Regions from separate parts of the Homo sapiens genome. Here regions 1, 3, 4, 5, 6 and 7 are each linked to region 2. Evidence: promoter capture Hi-C in 16 types of primary human blood cells and fetal thymus (Javierre and others, 2016). All regions are on one chromosome and are shown on one strand. The core of a region is centred on a gene start or on the middle of the fragment in contact, and the rest is flanking DNA. Distances in the headings are between cores, read along the strand shown.

The links. Contacts are between HindIII fragments. The CHiCAGO score rates a contact against its expected background, and 5 or more counts as called.
Region 1: a contact is called between a fragment that was not itself captured here and the fragment with the promoter of FN1 in region 2, in 2 of 17 cell types (endothelial precursors and M0 macrophages). The highest score is 8.0, in endothelial precursors.
Region 3: a contact is called between a fragment that was not itself captured here and the fragment with the promoter of FN1 in region 2, in 2 of 17 cell types (endothelial precursors and M2 macrophages). The highest score is 13.5, in endothelial precursors.
Region 4: a fragment that was not itself captured here is called in contact with the fragment with the promoter of FN1 in region 2 in 1 of 17 cell types (endothelial precursors); the score reaches 8.6 in endothelial precursors.
Region 5: a contact is called between a fragment that was not itself captured here and the fragment with the promoter of FN1 in region 2, in 9 of 17 cell types (endothelial precursors, M1 macrophages, M0 macrophages and 6 more). The highest score is 11.7, in endothelial precursors.
Region 6: a fragment that was not itself captured here is called in contact with the fragment with the promoter of FN1 in region 2 in 4 of 17 cell types (M1 macrophages, M0 macrophages, erythroblasts and 1 more); the score reaches 6.3 in M1 macrophages.
Region 7: a fragment that was not itself captured here is called in contact with the fragment with the promoter of FN1 in region 2 in 7 of 17 cell types (endothelial precursors, M0 macrophages, M2 macrophages and 4 more); the score reaches 9.6 in endothelial precursors.

The regions. Positions count from the first base shown.
Region 1 is chr2:215,807,122-215,810,896 of GRCh38, reverse strand. All of the region lies in intron 1 of LINC00607 (long intergenic non-protein coding RNA 607), which reads left to right. Among named protein-coding and RNA genes, the nearest start is that of LINC00607, 35 kb to the left of the region's middle. The HindIII fragment of the contact is 4,814 bases long and covers 1-3,773 here.
Region 2 is chr2:215,434,320-215,437,981 of GRCh38, reverse strand. It overlaps FN1 (fibronectin 1), which reads left to right and starts at 1,914. Exons shown (of 46, transcript NM_212482.4): 1 at 1,914-2,327; 2 at 3,158-3,286. The coding sequence starts at 2,180. It overlaps FN1-DT (FN1 divergent transcript), which reads right to left and starts at 2,291. Exons shown (of 2, transcript NR_187198.1): 1 at 1,673-2,291; 2 at 1-1,063. RefSeq lists silencers at 1,731-1,820, 1,831-1,890 and an enhancer at 3,403-3,662. The HindIII fragment of the contact is 4,490 bases long and covers 1-3,662 here.
Region 3 is chr2:215,824,922-215,828,889 of GRCh38, reverse strand. All of the region lies in intron 1 of LINC00607 (long intergenic non-protein coding RNA 607), which reads left to right. Among named protein-coding and RNA genes, the nearest start is that of LINC00607, 17 kb to the left of the region's middle. The HindIII fragment of the contact is 7,248 bases long and covers 1-3,968 here.
Region 4 is chr2:215,786,520-215,790,420 of GRCh38, reverse strand. The region is part of intron 1 of LINC00607 (long intergenic non-protein coding RNA 607); the gene reads left to right. Among named protein-coding and RNA genes, the nearest start is that of LINC00607, 55 kb to the left of the region's middle. The HindIII fragment of the contact is 1,289 bases long and covers 1,457-2,745 here.
Region 5 is chr2:215,866,230-215,870,372 of GRCh38, reverse strand. No RefSeq gene overlaps it. Among named protein-coding and RNA genes, the nearest start is that of LINC00607, 25 kb to the right of the region's middle. The HindIII fragment of the contact is 2,223 bases long and covers 1,719-3,941 here.
Region 6 is chr2:215,927,794-215,931,544 of GRCh38, reverse strand. No RefSeq gene overlaps it. Among named protein-coding and RNA genes, the nearest start is that of MREG, 84 kb to the left of the region's middle. RefSeq lists an enhancer at 3,408-3,751. The HindIII fragment of the contact is 6,678 bases long and covers 1-3,751 here.
Region 7 is chr2:215,908,247-215,912,211 of GRCh38, reverse strand. It overlaps LOC105373870 (a long non-coding RNA gene), which reads right to left and starts at 3,561. Exons shown (of 3, transcript XR_001739231.2): 1 at 3,505-3,561; 2 at 571-654; 3 at 340-426. The HindIII fragment of the contact is 5,383 bases long and covers 1-3,965 here.

The DNA.
Region 1 (3,775 bases), core at 117-2,616, 370 kb before region 2:
AGTAATCTCTGAGAGCCTCCTCGTTGTCTAGTATGACAAAATGTTCTAGGCTCATCCTCTACTTTTCCTTTCTCAGACTTGGAATCAGCCATTTTTTCTTTTTCTTTTTTTCTTTTCCTTTTTTTTTTTTTTTTTTTTTTGAGACAGAGTCTCGCTCTGTCACTCAGGTTGGAGTGCAGTGGCAAGATCTTGGCTCACTGCAACCTCCACCTCCCAGGTTCAAGAGATTCTCCTGCCTCAGCCTCCTGAGTAGCTGGGATTACAGGTGCGCACCACCACGCCCGCTAATTTTTGTATTTTTAGTAGAGATGGGGGTTTCACCATGTTGGTCAGGCTGGTCTTGAACTCCTGACCTCGAGGAGGGTGATCCACCCACCTCGGCCTCCTAAAGTGCTGGGATTACAGGTGCATGATTGCTTTGATTTGGAAATGATGACTAGAAACAGCAATATGAGAATTAAGACTCCTCATTGCTCTTAGGTTGATCTTTTCAGAGGATAGAGGTAGGAAATATATATATATTTTTAAATAAAATACATCATGAATTTATATATATTCAAATATAGAATAGGACTTTTAACTCAATCTTCTGCATCTTACGTTTGTATTTCCTTTCTCTCATGACAAAAATCCTGGTTTCTGATGGCACCAAGACAATTACTTATTTGCTTAATCTCACAATGCACACGACAGTCTCAGAATAACAATACCTACCACTAGCTGCAGTGATTTGATAATTTTAAGATTTATTTGCAGTTCTTTTTGTCCACAGAGTATATCTCAATAGAAATTTATAGTCAGTTTACAATGTTTCAAAGTCATTTGGAATAGTTCCTCTATGTGGTTTTGCCATCCATCTGATACACAGTTGTATTTACTTGACTAATTTTGCTCTCAATTGTTAAGTATCTGATTTTGTTATGTTTAATTTTGTTTTATAATTATGCAAAGTATTTACACTGTACCAAATTCAAATATACAAAACAAGGTATATTCATAGAAGTATTGCTTTGACCCTGTCCCTTCTTTTTTTTTTTTTTCCCTCACTCTGTCACCCAGGCTGGAGTACAGTGGCATGATCTCAGGTCACTGCAACCTCCTTCTCCTGGGTTCAAGCGATTCTTGTGCCCCAGCCTCCCGAGTAGCTGGGATTACAGGCATGCACCAGCACGCCCAGATGGGAAACTCCTTGTCTACTAAAAAAATACAAAAAAAGGGGTCTCCCCATGTTGGCCAGGCTGGTCTTGAACTCCTGACCTCACTTGTTTTACCCACTTCGGCCTCCCAAAGTGCTGGGATTATAGGCATGAGCCACTGTGCCTGGCCCTGCTCCTTCTATATAATTCCTTCTTTCATCATAGATAACCATTTAAAGAACTGTATATGTTAAGCCTTCCCTGCCTTTAAAAAATTTAAGGACTTGTCTGAAGATGACTCCATGGTAATATAGAGATAATTCTCATTTCTTTTTTGTAGCAGGCTTGTACTCCATTGTATGGCTGTATCCTGATTTATTCTTTATTGAATCCATTCTCCATTATGGATATTTGGATTGCTTCCAAGTTCTTTATTATTATTAATGGTGTTGCAATGCATGGCCTTGTGCATCTTCTTATAGTTTTGCCAATGTATCTTTTGAATAGATTACTCAACATGGTGTCGCTGAGTAAATATCTAGCAAGGTATCAGCAAATCTTCCTCTGGAAGAGAGGTGAAATTTTGCATTCCCACCAGCAGAGCAAAAGTGCTTGCTTCCCCACAGTCTGGTCAACTGTTTATGTGATCAAACTTTTGGATTTTTCCCATCCAGTGATAATTGAGAACTAGAATCTCAGAGAAGTGTAAAATTATACTTCTCTTACTATTAGCACTGTTGAGCTTTTTGTAGGTCACTTGAATTTGCTTATCAATTGTTTCTTAGTTTCGTTTTACAATAGAGTGTTATCGGTCTTTTCTTCTCAAATTCTAAAAGCTCTGTTTATGTGAAGAATAATCGCTTTGGGTGACGTAAGTGGCACATATTTTCCCCAGTTTGTCATTTGTCCCCTTTTTACATTACTTATGACACTTTTCACATATAAAGGTTTCTAACTTTATTTTATTTTTTACATCGTCAATTGTATCAGTCCTTTCTCTTTTTACTTCTGGATTTTGAGTCATGATTAGGAACATTTTTCCAAGTGTCATGTAATAAAGCAATTCACTCATGTTTCATGTAGTATTTGTATGGTTTCATTTTATTACATTCCTGATACACTTGGAATTTATCTTGTTTTATGGTGTGAGAAATGGATCCATTTCCTCCTTTTAAAGTATAGCTATCTATCTGTTAATAGTTGTCCTAATACTACTCACTTAAATGTTCATCTTTTTCCCACTAATTTGAGGTGCTGACTTTATTATATGTTAAATTTTCCTATGCAGTTGTATTCATGCAGGGCTTTCTGTTCTACTGAAAGTATCACTAAGGGTTATGACGGAAGTTTGAATTCTAGTTAAATGAATAAGCAGGTCCTGTGTTGCCCAGAGCACAGGAGAAGAGGTATAAAGTGGTATTAGCCATTTTCTCTGCAAGGTAAAAGACGTGAAACATTTTGGATGTTTAATGAATAGTTACATGAGTGACTCAATTAAAAAAGTAAATTAGTAAATGATCAAAGAAATACACTTGAGATATATATTTGGAACAGGACAAAGTTTCTATGAAATAGCAATTAGTGACAATGCAGTGGTGGACAGTATAACAGGGAGAAAATAGTAGTATTTATAATCTATCTGCTTAGAAAAAGAATAACTTTGTTGCATATTTTAAAATGTGAAACTCTGAGAACTTGTGTGTAAATATTAAAATATACTCAGATAATTTCATTATATTGAAAATTCTTATTACTGTATTGAAAATAAACCAATGATGAATCCTTTAGTGGAGAGAATCTTTTTTTTTCAATTGTGAATAATTGTAATTTAAATGAGATGTTTTCTTGGTTCAAATTTTGTGTGTAAGATTTTTTAATAGTGAGGCACATTGACATGTTTTGAAAACAGAGTGTAACAAAAACAGTGACCATTTCTCCTTTGAGAATGAAAATAATGACATAAAAAATAATTAATCTAGGTTTTCATTACACTGGGAAGACAACTCATAGACACCATTGTCCAGAAATCTGTGACAAAACGCCTAATTAGTGTTTCTTATCTAGCTTGGAAGTAACAGCCAGAACTCTGAAGGTGTCATCCTGACTTTTGAAGGATTTTACACATAATTCAACATAGCTATGTGTGAAGAGCTCTTCACACATCTCCGCCTTTCTTTTGTAGTTCAACATACAATACTACAAAAGAAGTTAATAAATAGTTCTGTAAATAAATTACTTTAGGAGGTACACAGGGAAATTAAAGAACAGGCAGGAAAGGAAGGAAAAACATTAAGCGAGAAGGAAAATTGACAAGATTGAGAAAGGAACTTCTCCATCTGGCGAAAGATTCAGGGCTCAAAATTCCCTTTTCAGCCATGGCTGGAGTGTGTGGAAGAAATGACAAAGCTAGTCCTCACTAAGCACCTGGGGAACAGAAGGGCTCTTTCTATGTTGTTAGCTTTGCAGTAGTTCTCTGGATTTTCTTGCTCTAGGATGTTATAATCAAGACATATTGAAAGTGTAGCCTCTCTTTTTTTATAATCTTGTGATTCTCAGAACCAGCAGTAAGAAATGTAGAAAGCAGTGAGATGAAAAATAGCTTGGGAAGAGCAGCCTACTTTATTTTCTCTTAAAGCTTG
Region 2 (3,662 bases), core at 665-3,164:
TATCTTGCTTACATCCGGATTTCCAGGTATCCTTCCCTCTGGAAGAAACACTCGGCTTCCCAGAAATTTACCAAGCATTTTACAAGGAGCTCTTTTATATTTGAAAAGAGAAAACTGTTTTGTCAAGTGATGAGAAATTCCAAAAAAATCCTCTAACCCAGACAGGATTCTAAATTTGGGGAAATCCATGGCACTCTTTCAATTTGGAGTGTGGGTCACAAAGATTCCTCAAGAGGTTTTTTTACACTATTTGTAGGAAACTGATATTTGCTGGGTGTTTTGCTTTGTTTTGGTTTGGTTTTAAATCCTTGCATGAATAAAAACAAATGCTAATTTTGTGTCTTTAATGTGTCAGGCATTTTATAGAACACAGAGTTCTAATTACTCCTGTGGCAATTACTGAAGGTGAAACTTTTGGAGAAAATAGGTACCTTGCCGAAATAAATATATTTTATTAGTAGCTTCTTGTGTTTTAAAGCAAATGGAACCTCTGAACTCCTAACACAAGGAGAAGGCAAAGCATTCAGTTCGGGTCTCTCTGGATCTACTGTGGAAGTGGTGGACTCCTCCTTCTGAAGATCTTTAAAAGCAATTGTGCCTGTGTTTATCTGACAAAAAGGACTGATGTGATGTGTTGCTAAATGAGAGACTTTTCAGATTCCCTTTCCACTCTGAGTTTAGAGTTCAAGGCGGGGGAATCTTAAAGGAGAACTTTCCACACTCTTGGAGTAAATAACAATTGAAATATAAAAAATCTGGCGGCGGGGGATGGAGGGGGCATTCTGTAATGGAACTTGTCAGCAAAAAGAAAATGGCAAATAAATGTGAGAAAGGGGCCGAAGGAGGGCAAGACAGTACATAGGGTGCCCCCCACCCACCCGGCTTTTAATGATTCAAGCAAAAAAATCTCTGCTTTGTGTGTAACTGGCACGGTGAACGTGGGAAAGGACACGAAGACCTTTCTCTCCCCACAGCTGGTCCAACTTTCCAATTTTCAGGTTGTTCACAGTGATTTCACTTTCAGTGGAAACGGGCGTCCCATCCCCAGGAAAGGAAGGCTTTCCTGCATGTGTAAAAAAGTAAACTGTTACTTTGTCCTTGCAAAAGAAAACTTCATTCTCTGAACTTCCCCGGGATCTGCAAAGCGCCCCGCGGAACTCCCGGTACTTAGTAGAAGCTCATTAAAGGTCTCTGTTCCCCTTTGCTCCCCGTTCGCCCGCTGGCCCTTTCTCAGAGCCAGACAGGCACAGCGCTGAGAAGGGAAGAAGTCCGAACAGGGAGCTGTGAAGACAAAATAAGGGAGTCCCGAGTCAGTACCCTTTAGTCCAAAGAAAGGGAGCGGGATGGGGGGAAAGGCAGCCCCGCCCTGGGACTGAAAAGTCTGGATTCTTAACAGCTGCAAGGTCGTGGATATTTTATGGGTTTTCTTCCTCACAAAATACACTCCTATAAGCAGAGATTCCCCCCCTCCACCCCGAAGAGAGGTGACGCAATGTCCTCAAACACTACCACCACCCCCAATAAAAAAGAAAAGGGAAGGGGGAGCGTCTTGCAACCCCTTCGCTTCACACAAGTCCAGCCACTCCCTTTCCTCCCAGCCGCTTCCCATCCCTTCCCCCATCCCCTAAAAAGTTTGATGACCGCAAAGGAAACCGAAAAAAAGTTGTCTTGCCCCAGTCCTGGCGGGCCATCAGCATCTCTTTTGTTCGCTGCGAACCCACAGTCCCCCGTGACGTCACCCGGAGCCCGGGCCAATCGGCGCGCGGTCGGCTGCGGCGGCCGGCGGGCGGGCGGGCGGGTGGGGTGGGGCGGGGCGGGGACAGCCCGGCGGGTCTCTCCTCCCCCGCGCCCCGGGCCTCCAGAGGGGCGGGAGGGGACCGTCCCATATAAGCCCCGGCTCCCGGCGCTCGGACGCCCGCGCCGGCTGTGCTGCACAGGGGGAGGAGAGGGAACCCCAGGCGCGAGCGGGAAGAGGGGACCTGCAGCCACAACTTCTCTGGTCCTCTGCATCCCTTCTGTCCCTCCACCCGTCCCCTTCCCCACCCTCTGGCCCCCACCTTCTTGGAGGCGACAACCCCCGGGAGGCATTAGAAGGGATTTTTCCCGCAGGTTGCGAAGGGAAGCAAACTTGGTGGCAACTTGCCTCCCGGTGCGGGCGTCTCTCCCCCACCGTCTCAACATGCTTAGGGGTCCGGGGCCCGGGCTGCTGCTGCTGGCCGTCCAGTGCCTGGGGACAGCGGTGCCCTCCACGGGAGCCTCGAAGAGCAAGAGGCAGGCTCAGCAAATGGTTCAGCCCCAGTCCCCGGTGGCTGTCAGTCAAAGCAAGCGTGAGTACTGACCGCGGGCTGAAACAGGCTGCCTCAGGGATGGGACCCTAAAGCCGACCAAAGTTGGGGCTGAAGTTTTGTGCGCGCGCGTGTGTGCGAGTGTGTGCGCGCTTTACTGAGAGAAACCAGCTGTGCACACAAAAGGACCGAGTTTTGAGCACGCTGGTTCTGAGGGCCTGGGATGATAAGACCGTGCATTGGAGGACGAGGACTCTGCGACTTTCCCGTGTTCTAATAAATTCTGCACGTTCAGATTGTCCTTCTAGGAATTAACCAAAACTTGCCTTTAAAGAGAAAAATGATGCATGTCTATAAATTTTCCGTCTGGGATTAGTGTGGTCCTTACTGCTACTTATTTCCTTCTGTTAAATAATTGGTCAAATATTTTCAACATGGGGGTGGAAAGGGGGTATTGAAATAGCTGTCTTGTTTCTAACTAACTTGGAAGAGATGTAATTGGTTCAGACCTCTTTAGGGCCGCTCAGGATACTTCACCAAGAACAGAGGTTGGAATTCTTTCCGTTTTTCAAAGACACACCCTCCTTTTGCTTTGAGAAAGCTGCTTAAAGTTGTCCTTTTTGACTATTACTCCAAAAGAATATTTAAGTTCCTTGCATGTTTTAAAAATGTGACTTCAATTGTCTGCCTTCCAAAATGTTTCCAACTTTTTTATGTAGACCCCTGGCCAGATGGAAATGACATCATTGTATATAACTTTTAGCAAAGTTAAAAGGAAAAAAATATGTACGTCAATATTCACATGAAGAAAATTCCATAATTTTGGGAAAAGGAGAAATGCAAATGTAACGTTTTCCTTCAATTATTTGCAGCCGGTTGTTATGACAATGGAAAACACTATCAGATAAATCAACAGTGGGAGCGGACCTACCTAGGCAATGCGTTGGTTTGTACTTGTTATGGAGGAAGCCGAGGTTTTAACTGCGAGAGTAAACCTGAAGGTAAGTGACAACAAGCCCCATAGTTAGTATCTTTTAATACATGAAGTGGTAATTGTTAAACTTTGCATTAGTAAGTAAAAATACATACACCATTTTTCTAATAGAATTACCTGTCATTTCCTCTTAAGTTTAAAAACTGCTTATATTTGCTTTTCACATGCTTTTACCTTTAAAACAAAGAAACGAATCTTTCCCAAATTAGTTCCTAGAGTCTTCTTTTTGCTTTACTCTCCCAAAGTTTTTGATGAGAAAAATGAAAGATTTTGTGTGTCCTCCGACAAAAAAAATTGCTTATAAAATTTTAATTTATTAGAAAGCAGTCTCAAATCTTAAACTGTTAGTTTATGAGCCAGAAAACACTTTGGGGACTTACATC
Region 3 (3,968 bases), core at 904-3,403, 390 kb before region 2:
CCACTCTAGCGCCATATTTTTTTTCTCTCAGGTAACTGGGCAAGGATGGGAGAAAAGAGGAAAAACTGTGTTTATGGAGGTGTGTAAAGATAGGGGGAAAAAAGACAAGCTGTGGAGGAATTAACCAAATTGAGCTTTGGAAGACAGAGGGCAGCAGGGAGCAGCTCTTGCAACACCTTTCTGAGGGGAAGAGGAGGTGAGAGGGAAGGCCCGGCTCAGGCTACAGGCTGCTCTTGCCAGAACAGTTGAGCTGCTGGTGAGGATATGCTGCCCTAGGGGAAGGAGGGACAGTAGACTGACCTGATATTCAAGGCAGGGAACAGTTGATGACATTTTATATTCTACCTTAGGGGGTCCTGCACAGAGAAGCAGGTGAGGGCTGCTATGGTAATTCCCAACGTGTTTTATTTATTTTATTTTATTTTTAATATGGCAATACAGATCAGTTTTGTTTTGTTTTGTTTTGTTTTTTTAACATTTTGCATCTTTCTACAAAGTGTTATACGGGCAATTTTTCTTTTCTTTTCTTTCTTTCTTTTTTTTTTTTTTTTTTTTGAGACAGAGTCTTAGTCTGTCGCCCAGGCTGGAATGCAGTGGCTTGATCTTGGTTCACCAGGTTCAAGCGATTCTTCTGCCTCTGCCTCCCAAGTAGCTGGATTACAGGTGTGCACCGCCATGCCTGGCTAATTTTTGAAATTTTTTTAGTAGAGATGGGGTTTCACCACGTTGGCCAGGCTGGTCTCAAACTCCTGACCTCAGGTGATCCGCCTGCCTTGACCTCCCAAAGAGCTGAGATTACAGGTGTGAGCCACTGCGCCTGGCCTAGGCAATTATTTTTGATGCCAAAGTAGAATTAATTGTTTTCATTAATTTTTAAATTAAGGCCAGGTTTGATGGCTCACACTTGTAAATCCCAGCACTTTGGGAGGTTGAGGCCAGAGGATCACTTGAGGCCAAGAGTTCAAGACTAGGCAACATGGTGAAACCCCCTCTCTACAAAAAATAATAAAAAAAATTAGCTGATCATAGTGGCATGCACCTGTAGTCCTAGCAACTCAGGAGGCTGAAGCAGGAGGATCTCTTGAATCCAGAAATATGGGGTTACAGTGAGCTATGATGGTGCCACTGCACTTTAGTTTGAGGAATGGAGCAAGATCCTTTCTCTAATAATAATTAATAGTAATAATAAGTTTTAAAATTAACTGTGCTTTAAGGATTTTTGTGATACCTTCCTAGACATCCTGTTTATTGTTGCAGAACTGATTGGATTCTCTTTCATAGAGCTCTGACCATAGAGGATACAAAGCAAATAAATAGAACAATCCTTGCTTTCAAAGGAGATTTTGATACAATTTTGAAAAAAAAAAAAAGAATGCAAAGTATGCTGCTCTTCCTAATGCCAAGGAGTATTTTACTTTTTAGCAAAAACCTTCTCTTAAATGTGGAGAACACTCAGGGGGAGGTGGAAGAGAGAAAGCAGTGAACAGATTCATCTTCCCTTCTATATCTGAAAGGATAAGCAGGCTGTGCTTTCCAGAGTGAGTTAGCATGCTATTTTATACAAATTCTGGGAAATGTCGGGCGTTTAAGTGTTGCTTTCTTGTTTGTTTAGTTTTCACGGTACTCCGGAATGTGTGTATCTCAGACATTTGAAAGGCATTCTGTAACCTATATTCCAGATATTATCCCTTAGTCATCTTTTGGGCTAGTCTGTCTGTAATTGATGAGTGTGCTTTTGAAATCCAGGGTTATCTTTGTTTAGGAAATAATTAATTGCTTGACATTGATGACCCTATTTTGTAGTTCTTTGTTCTATTTTGTAAATTTAAAAATGCTTCTTTTATCTTTGTATCGTTAACTTTGCCTTTATTACCTGACGAATAGCATATTTGCTGCTTAGGCAATGACCTCTGCAAATCAGTGTTTGGTGGGAAGGGCAAAGAGAACATGTAACTGTAACCTGAGGAGGAGTTTTTCTTTATCTCTTGTTCCGCTCTTATAGACTCCAGCGAACCACTAGAAGGAGCCTGTATCAGCCACTTTCCAATTCTTTGCAGTGATTATGTTTGAAGCAGATATTTATGTTTTCATTCCTGTTGATATCAGTGGGAATACTCTTGATAAACATAAGATGTGGGAAATATTTATTTCTGGGTCCTCTATTCTTCTTTCAGAAACCTTTCTCTCTCTTTTTTTTTTTTTGTCCACTCCTTCAAACTCCAGGCTTGCCACTTCTTAGTGGCATGACTGTCTCCTTTGCCCTTCCCACCTAGACCACGCCATAGCTTGTGGGTCAACCTCCTCACTTGGCTTTCCTGGTACCTCTGCTGTATAAACTTGCTGTTTTGGTTTCACTGCCTCAGGGCCTTGTTAGAAGATTTGCCAGTTCTTCTGATAAACCAGTCCATGCAATGCTGTTAATAGTTGATCAAAATCAACCCCAAATATGCCTCCCCTAAGAACCCGTTCCCATTCTAATCTGACGGGGGTCTTTAACACATTTAATTCCAAGTTTTCCAGTCTGGCCTGTGCTTAGAGAAAAATTCACAGGATAAGCACAACACATTTTTCTGGAGCTTCTCATTTACTTTAAGAACCTTAAAGGAAAAACTCACATTATTTTCATATTAAAAGAAATAAAGATACAGATTACACTAGACATCAGAATTTCTCATATCTTAAAAATAAAACATGAGAAAATAAGAAATTTTTACTTTTGGTGAATTATTCTGGGTTTGGTCTCTAGGTACCCTGCAAGGCTTGCATAAAAATCTTAAGAAGCCAAACCTCTTTGGTTTAAGCAAAAAATAGTTTTCAATGCTCAGAATTATAGACATTTGAGGAGGCTAATTTTTTTTTTTCTTTTCAGCACTTCTCTGATCATTTGCCCAGATGGGATGTATTTGCTGGGCCAATAATGTGGGCAGGAACACATTTTTCAGGCCTGAATATTTTTTTGAATCTCTTTACAAAGTCTTGTTTGGGTCTATTTGTGTTTTAGATCAAGTCTTGGTTGGTGAGTTAGAGATCTAAGTGATGACATTTAGCAAAAACATGGCATGGAGCTGCTTTTTAGTTTGCATTTTGGGCTAAGATAAGACACTTTATGTGCTTCCTTATAAAGGATATTTAAAATTTTTGAAATATTTACTTACAGTAGTCAAGTCAATGTCAAACAAGAGAATGAATCTTCAGGGAACTTTGAAGATAGGTTTAAACTTTTAAACATATGCATTTGTTTTATTGTATCGTAAATTATATAAAGAAGAATTACAATGAGGAATTGAAAAATTAATGGGATTTTTTTTTGTCAGAGGAATCCCTATGGGGAAATTATTGTAGAATCCGACAATAGTGCAAATTATTCATACTTTGTTGCTTTTTTAAAAAATTTTATCTTATTTTAGGCTTTTTTTATTTTTATTTTTTTTAATACTTCAAGTTTTGGAATACATGTGCAGAAAGTGCAGGTTTGTTACATAGGTATACATGTGCCATGGTGGTTTGCCACATCCATCAACCCATCATCTACATTAGGTATTTCTTCTAATGCTATCCCTCCCCTATCCCCCTACTCCCTGACAGGCCCGGGTGTGTGATGTTCCCCTCCCTGTGTCCCTGTGTTCTCATTGTTCAACAACCACTTATGAGCGAGAATATGCGGTGTTTGGTTTTCTGTTCCTGTGTTAGTTTGCTGAGAATTATGGTTTCCAGTTTCATCCATGTCCCTGAAAAGGACAGGAACTCATCCTTTTTTATGGCTACATAGTATTCCATGGTGTATATGTGCCACATTTTCTTTATCCAGTTCATCATTGATGAACATTTGGGTTGGTTCCAAGTCTTTGCTATTGTGAACAGTGCTGCAATAAACATGTGTGTGCATGTGTCTTTATAGTAGAATGATTTATAATCCTTTGGGTATATACCCAGTAATGGGATCGCTGGGTCAAATGGTATTTCTGGTT
Region 4 (3,901 bases), core at 852-3,351, 350 kb before region 2:
CAGACATGAGCTCAAATCCTGGCCCTGCTGGTTTCTTTCTTTCTTTTTTATTTTGAGATAGAGTCTCCCTCTGTCACCCAGGCTGGAGTGCAGTAGTGCGATCTCGGCTCACTGCAACTTCCACCTCCCAGGTTCAAGCAATTCTCTTGCTTCAGCCTCCTGAGTAGCTGGGATTACAGGTGCATGCCACCATGCCCAGGTACTCTTTGTATTTTTTTTAGTAGAGACCGGGTTTCACCATGTTGACCAGGTTGGTCTCGGTCTCCTGACTTCAAGTGATTCACTTGCCTCGGCCTCCCAAAGTGCTGGGATTATAGGAGTGAGCCATGGCCCTGCTGCTTTCTAAGTGATCTGGGGGAGTTTCTTTCATCTGTAAAGGATGGTGACACCTACCTTATGAGATTTCTGTGAGGATTAGATGAGACAACGTATGCACGGCATCGTCTGCAAAATAGATAAGTTCTCACTACGTAAGTTCTGGGAAGTAGGTTGGGAAGCACACAAAAGTCCATGTGTTGCGTGGTGTAAAGAAGCCAAACAGTATTTGTGTAGTTCACATATCATTTATCTTAGTGTGGGGCAGAGCTCCTGGGCTTGATGCAGTCAGGACTCCTCGGTTACCTTTAGATCAAATGCACCTTCCTGTTTTGCGTAGACTTTGAAACTGTATTTTTGGTATAGAGTTCAGTCTGGGGACTACAGAGAGTTAAGGGCAACCATGAGGACTCTCTTAACCACTGAGGTCTTATGTTTTCACAATTTCTTGAGTTTTGAGAACTTTCCTGAGTCTTAGATTAAGCCTCTAATGCTCTTTTGCTGCAAAGCAAAATATGGCCTAGGAATTCCAGAAGGTGCCTTAAGGAGGGCCAAAGAGCGATTCGGCTGAATATCAATCCCTGATAGCTTTTGAACTCAGGGTCCCTGACCCTTGGCAAAGTGTTTCTGAAGAACCCTTTGGATTCTTTGGAAGATTAAGAATAAGGAGCTTCCATTTCTTATCCCAGGAAACCACCTCTGACCTTATCGGAAACCTGAGCTGAGAAGCCAACGTTAAGTTGGATCAGTGGCGAGGGCTGTTAAGTGGGGCCCTGTGTAACTCGATGGACTTTATTATTATTATTATTATTTTGAGACGAGGTCTCACTCTATCACCCAGTGACACAATCTTGGCTCACTGAAACCCCCAACTGCCGGGTTCAAGTGATTCTCCTGCCTCAGCCTCCCGGTAGCTGGGACTATAGGTGCACGCTACCACACTCGGCTAATTTTGTATTTTTTGGTAGAGATGGGGTTTCACCATGTTTGCCAGGCTGGTCTCAAACTCCTGACCTGAGGTGATATGCCCGCCTTGGCCTCCCAAAGTGCTTTGGTTACAGGCATGAGCCACCACGCCTGGTTTTTATTCTTTAGCAGGCTTCTGGGAACTGCTAGTTTCCGTTTCTGTAAAAGCAAAGCTTGGGAAGACCATATTCTTGCCCTCATAAGAGTCTATTCTCTACCTTACTCCAGGTGCCACTGCCTTAAATACAGATACCTTATTTCCCCCAATCTCAACCCTCAGCAAATCACTTTTATTCTTCTGTTTCTTGAAATATTTGACAAGAACTTTTGTGGGGAAAAAGAAATGGTGTGGGTGTATTGGAAACCGGGGAGAAATCTGGTTCTAGGGCTTGGCTTTCTACTAAATTACATCTCTCTGAACCAAATTCCCTTCACTGGTAAATGAGTTGTTAGAGGTTCTCAACTCCACTGCCCATCAGTATTATCTACAGTTGCTTTTTCAACACCTGGGTTTGGATTCCTGGAATCCACTCCAGACCTATTTTATTTACTTAATTTTTAGAAACAGGGCCTTGCTCTGTCACCCAGGCTGGAGTGCAGTGGTGTGATCATAGCTCACTGTAACCTCAAACTCCTGGGCTCAAGCGATCCTTCCATCTCAGCCTCCTAAGTACCTAGGAGTACAGGCCTATGCCACCATACCTAGCTAATTAAATTTTTTTTTTTTTCATAGAGATGGGGTCTCATTTTGTTGCCCAGGCTCATCTCAAACTCCTGGCCTTAAGTAATCCTCCTGCCTCAGCCTTCCAAAGTGCTGGGATTACAGGCCTGAGCCACCACGGCTGTCCAGACCTATTTAATCTGACTCTGTGAGGGTAGAGCTCTTCGCCAAGGGGTGCTTATATACATTGGATAGAGAGCCCCAGGGTTGTGTAAACTTCAATCCCAGGATTCTTTAGAGGTTCAACACTGGAATTGGCAAAAAAAAAAAAAAAAGCCTCCTTATAGCAAAAAAAGACTCTCATTTTAGTGTGGGGAGTGTGTTTGAGGGAACTTAATGCTTTTCTAGAAGGCTTCAGATAGCCGAGAAGAAAGCAGTGCTGTCCAAGATAAGAGCAGAGTGTCTCAACATGAATTACTATCAGCAAGGCCCTCTAAGCACAGGAGGATGGCCTGTCACTGAGCAGGCAAATTCCAACCTTGCTTTATCCCAATTATCTTTCCCATTCTCTTCCACCCCAGTTCTAAAGGAGGAGACGACAGGGGAACAGATGAGTGTGCCCAAAGTACCCGGGGCATGTTAGAAGGGGAAGTGCCATAGCCTCAAGACAGCCCCACTTCTACAGCCTGAGGCATCAGACATGCCGTCCATCTTCTCCGTGGCCAGCCTGTGGGTAGCCCTTGCCTTCGTTCTGCTCCCCACATCTAGCCAGACATTCAATTGTTCTCTAGCCCAAGCAAGCTTAAAGATGTTGATTCAGGATTAATAACTGGGATGGACAGGTCAAGATCTTGGCTTCACTCATTTACTCAACACGTATTTATTAAATGAATGGCTTTGCTATTGACAGAGCAGTTTTCATTGGGAAACCCCAATACAGCAATGGCTAATAAAGGCAGGTAGCACAACCATCTGAAAAAGAAAATGAAAAAGCCACCTAGAATGACATCTTAAATATAGCAAAATTAATTTAATTCTAAATGGGATCTAAAAGAATACTGATAGATACATAATGTATGCAAATCTATGCAAATCCTGGTACCAATTATGCAGAAAAGGATTGGGTGGCATTTCTAAAGACTAGCCATGCTCTAAGCTGTCACCCGCCAGCTTGCTTCTCTCTGGAGTCAGATTAAGACCAGATGGCAAGAATTAGAAACCAAGAAAAACGCCTCCCTTGAACCCTCACCTTCAAGTCTAATTTAAGCATCTGTGAGCTTTGAAGTGGTGGGACTACTTTGGTTAGCATTCAAGAGCCCTTTTAGGAGTTGCAGCAGGACATTGATTCAGGAAACAATAATACCTGACCATGCGGACTCTGCTAGACTCTTGCATGGCCTGCTGAGGTAATGTCTATAAAATGCTTTGACCTTCTTAGAATAAGACAGCTTTATGTATTGCTAGAAAAACAGCAAAACAGAATGCCTCACAAAATAAAAGATTCCATTTCCTCTAAGGGGATAAAGTACAAATGTGCACCTGCATACACACACACACACACACACACACACACACACACACACACACATACTTACCATCACCTTACAATGGAGCTAGTGTAATTTCTTTACAGAACCTCAGTCCTGCCCCATTCAGGCTTAGCAGCAGATCACTTGCACAATGTTGACTGCAGCTCCTTCCTTCATAAGCGTGTTCCCTCTAGACTACTGAGTCAGCATCATTATCCAAATAAATATCTGCTATATTTTGTTGTTAGTAATGATAATGACCAGCTGGGGTCACTAAGGATGGGCTTAATGCATATCATCCAAATGGAAAATTTGAGAAAATTGGAAGCTTTAGAAAGAGTCCAATTGTGTGTCCCTGTTTACTTTCAAAAATAAAACTCTGCCTTATATTAAAGTCATTCTGTTTTGTTATAGTGCTCAGGGCACCAGC
Region 5 (4,143 bases), core at 1,581-4,080, 430 kb before region 2:
GCCCACTCACATGGCTGTTGACGGGAAGTCTCAGTTCCTTGCTAATGGCTTTTCCTTGGGGCTAAGTGTCCTCAAGTCATGGTAGCTGGCTTCTTCCAGGATGAGTGTTCTAAGGAAGATAGAGAACAAGAGGACAACCAAGACAAAAGCTGCAATGTCATGTAGAATCTAATGTTGGAAGTGACACATCATTGCTTCTGTCATATTCTCTGGTCATACAGACCAACCTGGTACAATGTGGAAAGGGTCTAAACCAGGCTGTGAACACCGGGAGACAGGAATCACAGAGCCACTTTGGAGACTGGCTACTAGGCATATTCTGCCTGATTTCCACAGAGTGTCATACTTCCATATCTTTCCCAAAGTCAGATCTTTCCCATGGTTGGTCTGAGTCTGCCAACTTCAGGAGAAATCTCTTTACCTACAATTCTTGTACCATGTGATGTGGACCTACGCTGCTTCTACCAAGTGATGTCACAAACTCATTGGGGTTCTGTATTTCCTTTCCTACCCAACACACACACACACACACACACACACACACACACACACACACACACACACACACACACACACACACATTCTCAGGGTGTGGGCTTCTAATGAGAATCATAATTGTGATTCTTTCTTACCAGGTGTAAAATGTTAGGACTGCATTTGATACCGCAGAGTCTCAGTGATAAAGCAATGATAAAACCCTGAAGTTCTATATCTTTTTATATGTTCCCAGTCTCCCACTCCTGACTTGATCTGCTCTAGGCATGGACTCTTTCATAGATGTACAAAATATTCCTTATCTCCCCGCATCTTAGTTTCATATTTTTTCCTTTAGCGTCACGTCACTTCCATCCAAAATGAAGGTAACTTTTCGTTTTTATTAAATTCTTCTTGTAGTTAGAGAATTGGAATGATTCAGCTTTCTTGCATGTTTTCTTCTTCTTTTCTCCATATTTTGAGAATGCTGCAGAAGCCCCAAGGAATTTAAGGACTTCCAGAACCAAGTGATAGGTGTTCCAAATGAGATACGAGCATTTACAAAGAATGTTGCTAAGCAACTATTTACAAATAAAGGCATTTTTCCAATAGAAAGGAATTAAAAAACAAATGTTATCATTAAATGCTGAATAGTCAGGGAGACTACCTTTACTGTATAAACATTTATTCTTGATCTCATTTTTTAGAGTGCAGATAATGGTTGCTTGAAGAAGGAAGGAAATGTGTCAAGGGACTTTTATGAGAGAGAGAGAAAAATGTAAGACTGTATGTTGGTTTGAAATGATGACCAAACAATGATTTCATTTCACTATAGTCCAGCAATAAATCTGTAACTCTTCTCTCACCAGTGACACTGGAAACTATAGGGAATCCAGGCCAACTAATTCCAGGCACTAATCTTTCATGCTGGGAAATGCATCTGCTAGGTGTACAGGACCCAGAAAGTCTGACAAGCTAGTTTTTGTATGAATTTGCTATTAATCCTGACCACTCTTGCCTCCAGTTCATCACATGGGGGGCTACAGTCCCATAGTGCCGAGTTCTGGGACACTTATATTCAGTTATCTTAGCACGTCACAGAGCATGAGAAAACAGCTACTCGGATGCTTGCACTTTTTTTAGAGAGAGAGAGAGAAAAAAAAAATGACAGAGAATAAAGAGATGCGTCTTGGACTCATGTCTTGGCTTTGTACCCACTAACTGAACTTTAGCTCACTGAAGCTTGAGTTTGCATCTATAAAATGGGGTGATTGAGTTACAACAATGGTTACCATTTTATTATTTTTCCTCTCTAGACGTCCTGTTTTGAGAGATTTAGATTATAGTATTTACATCATAATAATTAATTTGCTCCACTTTCATTGTGTTTCCATTTTAAAGTTATCCATATTTTAAGCAACAATGTATAATTATCAATGGTTTATAAAAACCTTATGAAATTACATAAATCAAAGCCTTAGTTGAGATGCTAACAAACATCTCATGGTTCTTTCTACTGCTATTGTTCGCTACATTTTGTATACTCAGTGTTACTAAGTGTCACTTTCACCTTCTATATAGAGCCTTGGGACATAGGTCACTTTAAAAAATGGTACTGGGTGGATAGGATCCAAAAGAGAGATGTCAGATCCAAAATCCAAGGTCATGTGTCCTAGGACCTGCATATGGCTCTTTCTGTACTATGACTACTTCATATGTGGATTTAGTGTCAATGTCTAATTTGCTTCTCATCCCAACATTCCTCTGAGGACATTAGAAGCCAATGAGAATGAGTGGAAAGTAGAAGATGGCTGGTACTTTAGCCATCTTCTAAAGCCTCATCTTAGAAAGTGGGGCTTATTTGGTCCAGGAAAGAGAGTCATGGTCTTGGTCATTCTTTGGGGGTGGCTTCCTCTGAGATGGCTCCTGCTTCAAGCCCATAGGTCTATTCAAAGGTGGGTGGCTCTGCCAACATATTGAGGTGATCTATCTTTAGTAAAAAGCAAAGACAAATGTGTATGGTATTACCAGAAGTATTTGTATGTTTCCTTAGGTTATTATTTTTGGATGAAAATATTATAAAAGCTCTAAGTATGTAGAAAAGTTTCATAATTCTGGAATTCTTGTACAACAGTGGTTGTACTGCCTTCACTGTTTTGTGGATAATTAAAATTTGGGTTTGGCTGGCTAAGTTGGTTTGAGCCGAGTGCTAACAACATCAGAGGTTTCGTTCTGTTTGTAGCCATAGGTTTCCCTGCTAATATCTGCCAGCTGTGTGATCAATGCCTGCTGTTTGTCACAAGGGAGTCACTAAAAGTCCCTTGGCCTACTTTGATTGCCAAGGAAGACATGAATTTTAAAGACGGATTTCCTTTTAGTGTCTTGGAAAGCATTAACTCTGTGCCTCCACTGCTTAGAACAAAGACCTTCTCTTTGTTTCTTCTCTGTTGTCATCTGGTGCATGAGGTGGGGGTTCAGTAGAGTGAGTTTATGCATCAGAGAATGAGTAGACTTTCATTTAAGATGGTGGTGAGAAGAGGCATGTGAGCTTTGCAGACAGGGCTCCTGTGACAAGCAGAATAATGAGACCCCAAAGGTGCCCGTGTCCTAATTCCTGGAACCTGTGAATATGTTATGTTACATGGCAAAGAGAAATTAAGGCTGTTGATGGAATTAAGGTTGCTAATCAGCTGACCTCAAAATGAGATTATTCTGTGTTATCTGAGTGGCCCAATATAATCACAAGGGTCCTTGCAAGTGGGAGGCAGGGGTCAGAGAAGGAGAAGATGGGACTGTGGCAGAAGAGGTGAGAGGGGTGCAATTGCTGGCTTAGAAGCTGGAAGGAGGCTGTGAACCCAGGAAAATGGGGTCTCTAAAAGAGGCTAGAAAGAGGATTCTTCCCTGGAGCCTCCAGAAAGGAACACAGCCCAGCAACTCCTTGATTTTAGCCCCGTGAGTCCTATTGCAGACTTCTGACCTTCAGAATTGTAAAGTGATACATTTGTGTTGTTTTAAACCAGTAAGTTGGTGGTAATTTATTAGAGTGGCAATAGGAGACTAATAGCACCCAATAAAACTGACAAGAGAAATGTTCCAGGTAGTAGCTTTGTGGCTCTGCCCTGCTTTCTGTCGTCCCACTGAGAGTCCTTCCTGTTTGGAGTGCCTCAGAGGAGGGGCTTGGGATCAAGTTGAAATGAGAAGCCTTCCTCAATCTTTCAGGCAGAAATAATCACTCCTTTAACCCATTGTATCTAACCCATTGTATTTTATCCAGTGGTTTATATAGAATTGTATGAATTGTTTAATGACTATTTGGGTACAAGAAATGCCGATTTCTTTAGTTTTCTATATCAAATGAAATCCACTTTGTTCTTTCCTCATGCGGGTTTGTGAAAAGTAATAATTGATATTTTGGCTGATGGGGTGAAAAGAACTCCCTCTTTTCTTCTTAGATGCTGTGAGAAGCTTGGGGCTTATATGGTCTGGGAAAGTGGGGCATAGTCTTGGTCATTCTTCAGGGGTGACTTCCTCTGAGGTGGTTCCTGGTTCAAGCCCGTAAGTCTACTCAAAGGTAGATGGCTCTGTTAACAACTCCATCTCTTCCGTGGGGCCGTTCCATGGTGCTATGCCATGCTAAACCACAGAAACCTTTGCTGAACTTCCCAAGAC
Region 6 (3,751 bases), core at 1,214-3,713, 490 kb before region 2:
GAGTGGATAAATGTAACTGATTTGCCTCTTACAATAACACACAGATCCTCCCATCTCCAACGAGGGGCTTTGCAGGATTCTGATTGAACACTAGATGCCGCTGTTGACTCACTCTGTGTTCTGTGAGCTTCAAGATCTCATCCCTCAGTCCCCATCAGGAGAGACAATTTTTAAAAGCCTGAGTCAATTAACGAAGTTCTGTCTATTTTTCCTCATTTAGTGATTGATTTAGAGGGTTTTTATTTATTCATTTTTTGGTGAATTTCAGAGGTTGTCTTTTTCTTGGAGAACATTTGGAAATTGGCAGAAAATGAAACAACGAAAGGGCATCGATGTCTTTTAAAGAAGAAAGGTCAACTCAGACTAAAGGCTTGTAAATAAGATCATTTTTGGATTTCTGAGTTTCTGCCCCAGAAAAAATTCAAGTAACTCTCAGGCCTACCTGTTTCTCTAGTTCTGTAGCATGCCAAATTGTGTTTGTCTTCGGCATGTATTTGAATATTATAATCTGAGATATGCCGGATAGCTGCCTCTACTGCATTCCAGGTTGCTAGTGTCATTATTGGTTTTCTACTTTCTAAAGCAACTTTTTACTTTGGCAAATTTTTAAAACAAAAGGGGAAAGACTAGTGAAGTGTGCTCCAAATACCCATTCCTTTGAAACCTACCAAATTTTAAATAATTATCGAATTAATTTTCCTCTTAGGCAGGGTGGTAAAGGGGATGCCTCTCTCAAAAGGCAGATTACTAAAAGTGATTTGGAAACACAGAACATTGCAAATAAAACCGGAGAGCCCTTGCTTCATTTTTCTGTCTTCAAAATTCCTTGATTCTTCCAGAACAAATATGACTCAGACTTGGAGAGAGCTTTATCTCTGTGCTTCAATAGCAAAAGTACTCAGAACATTTATCATATTGCATTGAAATACACGTTTACATTACTGTGTCCCTGTCCCCCAGAAAAGAAGACCTCTTTTAGGGTAGCACCAAATCCTGGTCAACTACAAATCCTGGTCGTCTTTGTATCCCTGTGACCTGATCTTTTCATAGTGATCGCGCCACTGCACTCCATCTTGGGCAACAGAGTGAGACCCTGTCTCAAACAAAAACAAAAACAAAAAGCAAATATTTATAGAAGGTGTTTGAATAAAAAGAAAAGATTGGATCCAGTTTCTAGTGGGTAAGGCAGATGAGAACAGAGTAGACAAACAAACAAGGTAACTACAATTTGCAAGCAGTGCTGTAACAGGAACACTGGATGAGATAAGGTGGAACTGAGTGGGGCCCCTCTGCACAGGGTGGTCAGGGGCCTCTTCTCTGAGAGAGGTCTGAGTTGGGACCCTTAAAGGATGAGTCACAGCCAGTCAGTCATGCAAAGATGTGAAGGAAGAGGGGCCCAGGCAGAGGGAACAGCAAGTGCAAAGGGCTGGAGGCGATAAAGGCTTTGGCATAGCTGAGGGCGAAAGGGAGCAGAGCATGTCTGGAGTAGCTTAGGGGGTCATGATGAGCAGAGCGCTGGAGGCACGAGGAAGGGTGGATCTTCAGTTCCTGCCTTGTGCGACCAGAGAAGGGTGTCTGCCTTGGAGAGCCAGGAGCTGACTTATGTTGTGAAACAATAACTTGCCATGCATTGCGAATGGATCAGAGGATGGCAAGAATGGGAACAAGATGTGTCAGAATTGAGAGAGGGTGATGGTTTGGACTAGGTTGGTGGCATTGAGGAGGAGCATAAATGGGTGAAGTGTGAGGTGTATTTTGGAGAGGTAATGGACAGGAGTTGCTGATGCATTTGAATTTGGGGGATGGTGCAGGAAGAGGAGAAATCAAGGATGACTCATAGCTTTCTAGCTGTGGCAGAGTGTGGGGCCATTTGCTGAGTTAAGGATGTCTGGGAGAAGAGGCTAGATCAGAACAGAATCAATTTTGGATCATTTTGATGAAACACCATGAGTTCCTCCCCAGACCCCCAACAATTGGAGAACTTATTTTGTTTCTAAGCACAATATTCTAAGTAGAATATTGTGGGGGTTTTTTTGGTAACAGCTTCATTGAGGTATAATTCACATACTATGCAATTCACCTATTTTAAGTATATAATTCAATGGTTTTCAGCATATCCACAGAGTTGCAATCAATTTTAGAATATTTTCATTACCCTAAAAGAAACTGTACCCTATTGCAGTCACACCTCCTTCATTCTTCACATCTACCCTCCTCATCCTAAACCCTAGGCAGCCACTAACGTAGTTTCTGTTTCTAGATTTATGTGTTGTGGACGTTTGTGTAAGTGGAACCTATGGTTATATGGGACCCTTGTTCCTGACTTCTTTCACTTAGTATAATGTCTTGAAGATTCAACCGTATTGTCGCATGAATCATAATTGTATTCCTTTGTATTGTGGAATAATTTCCTTCATTTTTATGAAATAATATTGCATACAATATTATAACATTTTATGCATCCATTTATCAGTTAATGGGCATTTGGGTTTGTCTTAGTCTGTTTGGCTGCCACAACACTCGCTTCAGCCTGAGTGGCTTAAACAACAGACGTTTATTTCTCACAGTTCTGGAGTCTGGAAGTCTGTGATCAAGCGGCTGGCTGATTCAGTGCTCAGTGAGGGAGCTCTTGCAGGACGCCATCTTTATGCTGGATCCTCCTGTGGCAGAGAGAGATGATCTCTCTCCTGTCTCTTCTTCTAACGGCATCAATTCCATTCGCAAAGGCTCCTCCTTCTCCCTAATTACCTCCCCAAAGCCCCACCTTCAAATATCATCACAATGGAGATTAAGACTTCAACATATGAATTTTGGAGACACTCCGTTCATAGTGAGGTGGTTTCCACTTTTGGGGTATTATGAGTAATGTTGCTAGGAATATTTGTGTGCAGATTTTTGTGTAGATATCCAGGAGTTTTGTTTCAACATGAGAATTTTGCAGTGTTTTTAGGACAGTGTTTGTAGGACAAAACAAGCTGCTGCCCTTGATTCCCTGCTCTCTTCTCACAGCTGACCATCCTGTGACCTTTGCCATTGAGTTTAGGAGACTCCATTCCACTGTAGACAAACCAGCCTGAACCCTCGTGTCTCCACCTCGTGTCTCTTTCTGTTCTGTATCCAGCTGCTACATATTTCGGGATGAAATGCCCTGCAGTTGGTCTGTTGGTCGGCATTTTATGTGGGAGTTGGCTCACATTGTTGATGTGTGAAGAATGGTATTGTTGGCTCACGAGAACGTGGGGTGACTTCCTGGAGGAAGTAGGACAGCCTAACATGTATCACGAGAGAGAAGCTATGAGGGCAAGAGAAGCTGCATCCACGAGGCAGTCCTGGGTGGGACCTCCAGCTCTCCACTTCCTAACTTGGGCAGATTGCTGAAACTTCCTGGCCTTCATCTGTAAAATGGCAATGCCAAGTTTCATGCGCGTCCGTGTGAAGAGACCACCAAACAGGCTTTGTGTGAGCAACATGGCTGTTTATTTCACCTGGGTGCAGGCAGGCTGAGTCCGAAAAGAGAGTCAGCGAAGGGAGATAAGGGTGGGGCCGTTTTATAGGATTTGGGTAGGTAAAGGAAAATTACAGTCAAAGGGGGTTTGTTCTCTGGCAGGCAGGAGTGGGGGTCACAAGGTGCTCAGTGGGGGTTCTTTTTGAGCCAGGATGAGCCAGGAAAAGGACTTTCACAAGGTAATGTCATCAGTTAAGGCAAGGACCGGCCATTTACACTTCTTTTGTGGTGGAATGTCATCAGTTA
Region 7 (3,965 bases), core at 684-3,183, 470 kb before region 2:
GGCTACCCGGCAATGGCCAGGTCCCTGGCTGTCATTTGGTCTTCAAGTCCTCTGCTGCTTGTAAAAGAGATTAAGGGCTAAAGTGCTCCCTGGTGAGGTAGAAACATCAACTTTTGCTTGACCTGATAGAACTGTAAGGCTGGAATATCCCTGGATGGTTGTTCCAGAAGAGCCAGCTTATCCGTCCATTGCTGTTATTCTTATTACTAAAAATGTATTTCCACTTGACAACAGTGGCTGCTGTAAAATCGCCTCTCCAGTGACAGTTGTTTCAAGGAGCAGAACTGCCTGAAGTCCCAGAGTGTCTGCTAATGGTTGTCTTCTGGGTGCCTCCCAGATGGCTGGAGGATTATGGCCTCTGGGATTTCCCCTTCTTGCCTGGGGTGTGAGGTTGACGGTAGAGAGGATGCCAGATCCAAGGAGCTCCTGAGGGACGATAGCACAGAAATTCCGAGTGGGAAATGGAAGGGCTAGAATCGCAGTGGTGCCATAAACTTGAAATTGAGTGTTGAGAATAGAGAGGTTGAGAAGAGAGCTGAAATGATTGAATAATATTAACAGTGTACCAACCTTCAGATATCTCCTTCTAACTACATATAGGAACAACTGGGCTGTGACTCGTGAGGTCATTCCTTATATTTTGAGACCTAGAATCTGTAAGACAGAAAAATATGTCACAGAGCAGTGAGATTGTCCCTTGCAGCATCAGCCGGGTATAATTGATGGCCATGGTATGACCTAAGAGGTGTGAGTGTGAGCTAATGAGACTGGCTCTTGTGTGAGGATTAAGTAATTTGTGCCTTCTTCATGGTAACACTTCATTTAATGTTCTGAAAACAGTGAAACACAAAACCAGTGGGAGGCAAGAGAAAACCCTCTTTCATCCTAAATCAGTGGCTGAAATATCTCAATTCAGAGCGGGTCCACCCATACCTCTCAAATCTTACGGTAACTCTTTAAACTGGGGGAAAAAAGGGATTCAAATTCACCCCATCTTTAAGCAAATTATTTTTCTTTAAAAATAATTTAAAAAATACTTTAATAGGGTTCAGAACACATTACCCCAAGTCATCCCAAAATATGCCTCTTTGGCATAAGGATTATTTTGAGCTGGTTATTTTGAGAACCTGCAGACACAGCAGACACTTTGAAAACAGAAGTTACCCTTTTGTAAGAGAAATTTATACCTATGAAGGAAATCTTCACTTTTAAGGATATCTCCCTCTCCATACCAGGAAGATAGGGCTGACTGAATCACTAGAGACTCTTATCAATGGAGAAAGTGTGGACTTACATCTGCAAAATAAACCTGGTTCTTGTTTATTGCACTTTTCCTGAACACCTCCCCATAACCATGTCTTTCTCCACACTCCTCTTTCTTTGTTTCAGGGGACAATAGTATTTAAGTCTGAAGTCTAAGACAATTCTTTATCTAGCCTTGAGATTTAATCTTTGAGATTTCCCAAAGTTATTGCTCGTGTATACAGGAGGTATACATATTAATAAACTTCTGTTTATTTTTCTCTTGTTAATCTGTCTTTTGCTGCAGGGAATCCCAGCTAAGAACCATGGAGGGTAGAGAGGAAATTATTTTTCCTCTCTTATACTTACTTGCACAGGGCAAAACTTTTAAGTTAGCACATAGAAATGTAGAGGAAAAGTAAATTTCCATCCCCAACCCCTAATTCTTCTTCTCAAAGACAATAGCTGAGGGTATTTTCTGGTATAAGCTACCAGAGGCAGTCTTTCCAAATTCAAATGTGTATGTGTGTGTTTATGGATCTATCATCTTTTTGATACACACACTTATGTAAGTACATGTGTGCATATATGTATTTGTGTGTTTCCCTACCCTCATAACTATTAGCATATTATACATACTGTTCAGCACTTTGCTTTTTTACATATCTTGAATAGCATTTCCTATGTTTGTCTCATTTTTTAATGCCACAGTGAATATTTTAATACACATTTCTTTTTACATAAATATAAATAAATCTGTGGGATCAGTTCCAAAAGAGTAGAATTTCTGTGTCAAAGAGTATATACATTTTTAATTTTGATATATATTGACAAAATTTCCTCCAATTCACACTTGCAGGGGAGAAAAGAGATTGTTTGCCGTATACCCATCTAGGTTCTATGGCTAAGACCCATGAATCAAACTGATAAAAGACAGATTGATAAGAGAAAAAGGTTTTAATTACAGATGTATGCATGGGAGTTCATAAAGAGAATGATGGCTCAAGGAGGTGGCTAGAAGATGGAGGCTTATATACTATTTTTGGGTAACCAAAGAAAAAACGATTTGGGGCTTTTGGACAGGGCAGCAAATTATGGAAAGGTGAAGATGTAACCGCCCAGTGGGTTCACTTTGCCCACTGCCTAGAGATAGCTGATTTATCAACACAGGGAAATTGCCGTGGAGAAAGAGTAATTCACACAGAGCCACCGGAGTTTTATTATTACTCATATGAGTCTCCCCAAGTGTTTGGAGTTCAGAGTTTTTAAAGATAATTTGGTGAGTAGGGGGCTTTGGAAGTGGGTAGTGCCGACTGGTCAGGTTGGAGATGGAATCGTAGGGGGCTGAAGTGAGTTTTTCTTGCTGTTTTCTGTTTCTGGGTGATGGTTGAGCCAGATTACCAATCTGGGTGGTGTCAGCTGATCCATCAAGTGCAGGGTCTGAAAAATATCTTAAGCACTGATCTTAGGTTTTATAACAGTGATGTTATCCCCAGGGGCAATTTGGGAAGGTTCATACTCTTGGACCCTAAACTGTAAATTCTAATCTTGTAGCTGATTGGTTAGTACTGCAAAGGCAGACTGGTCCCCAGGCAAGAAGGGGGTCTTTTCGGGAAAAGACTTTTATCAATTTTGTTTCAAAGTCAAACCATGAACTGAATTTCTTCCCAAAGTTAGTTCGGCCTGTGCCAGGAATGAACAAGAACAGCTTAAAAGTTAGAAGCAAGATGGAGTTGGTAAGGTCTGATTTCTTTCACTGTCATAATTTCCTTGGTTATAATTTTGCAAAGGCGGTTTCAAGGAGAGAAAATGTTTGGTAAATAAAGATCATCTTTTATTCAGATAAGAGTCTCTCATGTGATAAGAATTGTCTCTGGAAATAGCTCTCTTCCTGGTTAAGAGACATCTTTACAAATGGAAATTCCTTTAAAAATGTATATTTCCTTTATGCAAGGAGAAATTTATACACTGTTTTTAGGCATTTTGACGGGGGATAAAGAGGTTTTTCTGTATCTGCTGGTTCTCAGTTGTCTTTAGCTCAGAATATTCTCTATGCCAAAGTGGCGTATTTGGGGCCACATATTCTTCACACTCACACCAGCAATGCCTCAAAGTTGTTTTTCCCTTAAACTCCTGCTCACACAGTCCAGGTTTTTGATAGAGCTAACAACAATTTAATTTCTTCTTTCTGTCTCTCTCTTCCATCTATCCAAAGTGGGGTTTTTATGTAATATTAGCAACTTTCAAAAAACAAGTTGTTACCTAGATAATGCAGCTCTTCTTACATACTGTTCCTGTTGTCTGAAGTTACGGGAGCTGCAGTATTAACAGAATAAATGCAGTTGATTTGATTTGGTAGAAATGGCTTGAATTTAATCTAATATTTGATTCTAATTTAATTATACAATTGTCCTAAGTCCCACTACTGAAAGCAAGAGGACATAGTTCTTACTTCCAGGTAGCTTAAATTGTTCAGCAATTAAAAGGAAAACAAAAGACCTGGAAGAATTGTTAGTAAGATGCTTTGAAATATTTGTGGACAAAAGTGTATATCTGGATATAAATCTCTTTATGGCATACACAATTGCATGAACATCAGCATATACTTGTTTGCCTGAGGCCTGAATGGAATCTGAATGTGATAAAAAATAAAGGAATAGACCAGCAGTGAATTGAAGCTGTCCTTTTGGTGGTCAATTCCAAGGGAGTGAGGAGCAGATTGG